2 separate regions of the Homo sapiens genome follow, and region 1 is linked to region 2. Evidence: promoter capture Hi-C in 16 types of primary human blood cells and fetal thymus (Javierre and others, 2016). All regions are on one chromosome and are shown on one strand. The core of a region is centred on a gene start or on the middle of the fragment in contact, and the rest is flanking DNA. Distances in the headings are between cores, read along the strand shown.

Region 1 (3,227 bases), core at 65-2,564, 440 kb before region 2:
TTTTTGTATTTTTAGTAGAGACGGGGTTTCACCGTTTTAGCCGGGATGGCCTCGATCTCCTGACCTCGTGATCCGCCCGCCTCGGCCTCCCAAAGTGCTGGGATTACAGGCGTGAGCCACCGCGCCCGGCCATGATCATCTTCTTGACTATGCTGATGTGACAAGTACCTAAAGCCATCAGACTCTACCCTTTAAATATGCAGTTTGGGCCAGGCACCGTGGCTCATGCCTGTAATTCCAGCACTTTGGGAGGCAGAGGTGGGTGAATCACTTGAGGCCAGGAGTTTGAGACCAGCCTGGCCAACATGGTGAAACTCTGTCTTTACTAAAAAAAAAAAAAAAAAAAAAAAAATCAGCCGGGTGTCGTGGGGCACACCTGTAATCCCAGCTATGCTGGAGGCTGAGGCACGAGAGTCACTTGAACCCTGGAGGCGGAGGTTGCAGTGGGCCGAGATCACATCACCGCCCTCCAGCCTGGGCGACAGAGCAAGACTCTGTCTCAAATAAATAAATAAACAAACGAACAAGCAGTTTGTTGTACCTTAGTTATATCTAAAAAAAAAATGCTGTCAACAAATAGAGCAGAAGTGAAATAAAGGAAAATAAATGGGCCAAGAACTCTAAGGTATATTTGACAAATCATTCAGAACCTTTAAAAAAGAAAGAATCACAGAGGCATAGAAAGACAGGGAGGAACAGGGAGACAGAAACACCTGTGGCCCAAGGAGAACAAAACAAGGCTCCTAAGACAGACAGGAGGAGAGAGAGAGAGAGTGAGTGAGAGACAGACAGAGAAAAAGACAGAGAGAGAGAGACAGAGACAGAGAGACAGAGAGGCGAGAGGGATAGAAAGAGAGAGAGGGGTGGAGAGAGACACGAGATATTGAGAGAGACTCAGAAAGATAGCCGAGGGAGAACCACAGAGAGATGGAAGAAGACTCTGAGAAAAAACCAGAGACAAAGATGGAAAGAGGAGTATCGAGGGTGAACAGACAGTGGTGGAATGAGCAAAATGCAGAGAAGAAAGCAAGCAATCCAGGCGCCAAGAATAGTGACCCAGAGTTGGTGAGAAGCCAGATCCTTAAGGCTGGGGGAGGCAGGGAAGGGGCTGGCCTGGCTTCCGGAGACCCCTCCCCATTCTCCGGGCCAGGGAGGTAGGGAGTGACATTCCGGACTGGGTGGGGGGTGCTCTGGGGGTGGAGATAGGGGGAGCAGGAGGAGCTATTGCTAAGGCCCGATAGGCACCTCATTGCCCGGGAATGTGCCCCAGGGAGCAGTGGGTGGTTATAACTCAGGCCCGGTGCCCAGAGCCCAGGAGGAGGCAGTGGCCAGGAAGGCACAGGCCTGAGAAGTCTGCGGCTGAGCTGGGAGCAAATCCCCCACCCCCTACCTGGGGGACAGGGCAAGTGAGACCTGGTGAGGGTGGCTCAGCAGGCAGGGAAGGAGAGGTGTCTGTGCGTCCTGCACCCACATCTTTCTCTGTCCCCTCCTTGCCCTGTCTGGAGGCTGCTAGACTCCTATCTTCTGAATTCTATAGTGCCTGGGTCTCAGCGCAGTGCCGATGGTGGCCCGTCCTTGTGGTTCCTCTCTACCTGGGGAAATAAGGTAGGGGAGGGAGGGGAAGTGGGTTAAGGGCTCCCCGGATCGCCTGGGCCTCCCAACCCTCTGACATTCCCCATCCAGGTGCAGCGGCCATGGCTACAGCAAGACCCCCCTGGATGTGGGTGCTCTGTGCTCTGATCACAGCCTTGCTTCTGGGGGTCACAGGTAACCAGAACTCTGGGGTGGGAGGGTTGTGGGATTGGGAGGACTGTCTCTGCGGCACTAGAGCGCCTGTCCCCTGGGGAACTGTGTGAGCCTGGGCATGACTCCGGGACCGGGTGAATGTGAGTCTCTGTCTGTACTTGTGGTTGTGCGATCGTATGTGGCCCTGTGACTGCCACGGTGTGTGTCGGGGAGGGGGATGCCTTTTCCCATATCAGGTGACTGTGCGGCAGGTGGCACTGACCCTTTGAGGCTGTGTGTGTGGTTTTGTGATTGTGTGTGCATTTAAGATTGTGTGTGGCTCCACAGCTGTGTGGGTGAATGCATGTAGCACTGGGGGTGTTCACTGTGTGTTTGGCTGTGTGTGGTGACTTGGCATTGTATATGACTGCAGGTATCTGCAGTTCCTGTCCCTGAGGTCCCGGGATTGCGTGCAACAAAAGTGGTCATCACCATGGAAAGCTGTGACTGTGTGCTGCTTGCAGGCGATTATGTGATTGTGGCTGAGTGTGACGTTATGGATGCCCGTATTTGTGACCGTGTGACTACCTGAAGCTCTGTGTAGGGGTGACTGTATGTGACTGTGTGTGTCTGTGTGAGGCCGTGTAAATGCTACTGTATGTGTGATGGTGCAGCTGTGTGTCTGGAGTTTCTGTCTCTGCCTGGAGGGATAGAGGGTGCAGGGGTAGCTATCTCTGGGAGATGGGTGCCAGGTGACTGACTTGCAGTGTGTGCCTGTGTGCAGAAGAGTATGTGGCAGTCTGAACATCTGTGCACACACGGCATCTGTGCGTGGCACTGAGACACTGTGGATGAGGGTGTGCGATCCCGCTAGGCTGCCCGGGAGCGTGTGTACCTGGAGACAGAGCTGTATGTTAGCTGCACCTGTGGAGGCAACATGGGCGTGTCTGCAGAACTGCGTGCGTGCTTGGCTGTTACTGCTGTTGTGCGCGTGGTTCTTGGGGTGAGTTCGTGAATGATGGTGGTGCCAGGGCCATCAGCAAGGGTAAGAACCAGGCCGGGCGCGGTGGCTCACGCCTGTAATCCCAGCCCTTTGGGAGGCCGAGGCAGGCGGATCACCTGAGGTCGGGAGATCGAGGCCAGCCTGACCAACATGGAGAACCCCGTCTCTACTAAAAATACAAAAAATTAGCTGGTGTGGTGGCGCGTGCCTGTAATCCCAGCTACTCGGGAGACTGGGGCAGAAAAATCGCTTGAACCCGGGAGGTGGAGGTTGCGGTGAGCCGAGATCGCGCCATTGCACTCCAGCCTGGGCAACAAGAGCGAAACTCCGTCTCGAAAGAAAAAAAGAAAAAAAAAAGGGTAAGAACCAGTGAATGGGCACGGGAGGACTGATGATGGAGTGGGGCATGCATGTAGTCTGTAGGTCTGTGTGTGAGAGGAGGAGATTGACAGGATTGAGAAGGCATGTTTTCATCTGAGAATTCAGAAACCTAGGCCTG
Region 2 (2,947 bases), core at 282-2,781:
CAGGAGCAGAGCCCTGGGAGGGCAGGGAGCAAACCCTGAGCGGGCCTGGCTGGGGGGTTGCTGGCACAGTGGGCAGCTGTTGGGTGGGTTGGGGGAGGGGGTGGTGATGTCTCTTGGGGGGTCAAGGTGCCCGAGTTGCAGGCCCTGGAGGGCTGGGGCTGGCCAGGGCTGCCATCTCACGCTGCTGGGGGAGGCAGAGGGAGGGACGGAGCCATGCAGGGCCTTCCAGTGCTTTCCCACGCTGAGGTGGCTTCGGGGACACAGCCCTGAGGACACACAGGCCTGCGCCCAGCCCCCTTCTCCCCTCGTAGTGGCCCAGGCTGTACCCCGTACACGGCAGCTATGGGCACTATGGGGACACTCAGGCCCCAGCAGGAGTCAGAAGGTAGAGATGGCGGGAGGCCCCCCACTTCCGTGAGGTGCCTGGCCCCTGCCCCCTTCCTGGCTCTGTCTACACCCAGGCATCTCATCTCTCCCACACCGGGGGCTCCTGGCTCTGGAAGCCAATTCCTCCCTTATCAGCAGCGGCAGCCTTTGGGTGCCACGTCGGGGTCTTGGCCCCTCTCTGTCTGCCCGCGTCTGTCTCCTCTCTCCTCCCGTCAACTTGGGGCTCTCGCCACCCAGTGCCCGCCCCCCCCACCCCATGCTCCCGTTCACGCTCTCTTTCTCTCCAGCCTCCTTCCAGCGCCAATCCTGGTTGCCATGGAAACACTGCAGCGGGTACCAGGTGGTGGCTGGGGGCAGGGAGCCTGCGCTGCCGCAGCCTGCGCCATTTCCGATGCCAGGCACCCTCAAGGCACAGAGGCTGGGGCTCATGTTGGGGGCACTTGGCCTCTCCAGGCCTCGAAGGCTTCTCCTGGGCTGACGCGAGCTGGGGAACGGGAGGGACGGACGTGGGAGCGAGAACGTCACACTGGAGGCAGCTGGTGGCACGATGGGGGACAGAGTGAAAGGTAGCAAGTCAAGGTGAACTGAAGGATGATCAGAGCGGAGGGAGGCTGTGGACAGGGGCGGAGGCTGTGGGAAGGGGACCCGTGCTGCGCAGCGGGGCTAGGGAGGTTGGACCCGCTGAGGCAAGGGCACATTGAGGAGAAGCCACAACCAGGGCTCCCGCTGCCTCTGGGAGGGCTAGGGCCACGGCCAGGCTGAAGCCTCCCTCAGACCTTAGCCGCCTGAGGACAAGGAGGAGAGGTGAGCACGAGGGGACAGACAGAGCCCAGAGTCCCTGTCACCATCTCTTCTCCCAACCCAAAGCAAGATGCAGTTTCCATGACAACCTGGCCGGCCAGAGAGGGGGCAGGGGACTGCAGAGGAAACTTTCCACATCAGCAGGGAGAAAGAGGGTGTGCTGCAGGGGAAAGGGGGGCACGCAGGGTTCCCAGAACCCCCGGTCACCATGCTCACTGTGCTGGACCCGGGAAAGTGGACAGAGCACAGGGAAGGGTTCTCCCGCCTCCACTCCCGCAGGCCCACGCCCCCACGCTGGGCCTGCGGGGAAGGGGGAAGACTGAGCCCAGAGGCTCAAGGGTCAGATGTCCAAAGAGCAGCGGCTGCCCAGGCCTTGTGCAGCGGGCAGCGAGCAGCCCAGGGAGCCAGGCCCCAGACACCGCACTCAGGGCCATGGCCGACAGGGGCCCGTGGAGGGTGGGCGTGGTGGGCTATGGCCGCCTCGGTGAGTCCCTGACCATCCTTGGCCTCCTTCCCCAAACCCCTTCCTAAAGCTCCCAAGACTCTCTGCCCTCCACAAACACTTTTTTCTCTCTCTATCTGCCCCTGGCTGTGTCTCTGGGTCTGCCCACTGCACCCCCACCCCAGGTCTCTGTCCTCTCCGTCTCTGTCTCCCTTCTCTCTGGGCCTCTGTCCACCCCACTGTGTCTCTGCCCTGCCCCCATCTCTGTCTCCCTACCCCGCAATCTGAGTCTGTCCCCACCTCCTCTCTCTCTGGGTCTCTGTCCCCACCTCCTCTCTCTCTGGGTCTCTGTCCCCCTCTCTCTGGATCTCTAGCCCTCTCCTTTCCCTCTCCCCAGGACAGTCCCTCGTCTCCCGCCTCTTGGCTCAGGGACCAGAACTTGGCCTAGAACTTGTTTTTGTCTGGAATCGTGACCCAGGACGAATGGCAGGGAGCGTGCCCCCTTCCCTGCAGCTCCAGAACCTTGCTGCCCTTGGGGAAAGGTCAGTGACCTTGCCATGGGAGAGTGGAGCTCCCTGAAGCTCCTGTCCTGGCTCTCTTAGCCACTGTGTGATCTCAGGGGTTCCCTGACCCTCTCTGGGCCTTGGTTCAAGCAAATGTGAAACAGGACGAACCCATTCATCTCATTTCGCCTCCCAGGTCAGGGAGAAGAAGGGCAGCCCTCAGTAGACTCGGAGGGAACCTTGGGGAGAAGAGGCCTAATACCTCTCCAAGACCCTCCGCCCTCTTTCCCCTCTCCCAGGCGCCCTGATCTGGTTGTGGAAGTGGCCCATCCCAAAATAATCCATGAATCTGGGGCACAAATCCTGCGCCATGCCAATCTCCTGGTAAGCCCCACCCCAACCATTTACGCAGAGCCCTGCCCCTTCTGTCTTGGTCTCACCCCACCCTGAAGTGGATATCCTTCCCTGACCTCAACCCTCCCCTCCTTCATCCACCCCAGGTGGGGTCCCCCTCAGCTCTAAGTGACCAGACCACAGAGCGGCAGCTCTTGGAGGCCTCACAGCACTGGGACCACGCCGTGTTTGTGGCCCGAGGGGCCCTGTGGGGCGCTGAGGACATCAGGAGATTGGATGCAGCTGGGGGCCTCCGGGTGAGGCCTGCTGGGCTCCCCAGGAACCAGGGGAGGCCTGCAAAGACCCCACTCCCCCTAACCCGGGCTCTTGCTTCCAGAGCCTTCGTGTCACCATGGCCACACACCCCGATGGCTTCCGGCTTGAGGGACCCCTGGCTGCAGCCCACAGCCCTGGGCCTTGC

What was found. Contacts are between HindIII fragments. The CHiCAGO score rates a contact against its expected background, and 5 or more counts as called.
Region 1: the fragment with the promoter of KLK5 here is called in contact with the fragment with the promoter of ASPDH in region 2 in 2 of 17 cell types (M0 macrophages and M2 macrophages); the score reaches 5.7 in M0 macrophages.

Annotation. Positions count from the first base shown.
Region 1 is chr19:50,951,125-50,954,351 of GRCh38, reverse strand. It overlaps KLK5 (kallikrein related peptidase 5), which reads left to right and starts at 1,314. Exons shown (of 6, transcript NM_012427.5): 1 at 1,314-1,605; 2 at 1,684-1,767. The coding sequence starts at 1,695. The region is part of intron 1 of LOC105372442 (a long non-coding RNA gene); the gene reads right to left. The HindIII fragment of the contact is 21,591 bases long and covers 1-3,227 here.
Region 2 is chr19:50,512,497-50,515,443 of GRCh38, reverse strand. ASPDH (aspartate dehydrogenase domain containing) reads left to right here and starts at 1,531. Exons shown (of 7, transcript NM_001114598.2): 1 at 1,531-1,672; 2 at 2,028-2,172; 3 at 2,433-2,517; 4 at 2,634-2,783; 5 at 2,864-2,947. The coding sequence starts at 1,621. All of the region lies in intron 1 of LOC124904747 (a long non-coding RNA gene), which reads right to left. The HindIII fragment of the contact is 8,504 bases long and covers 1-2,947 here.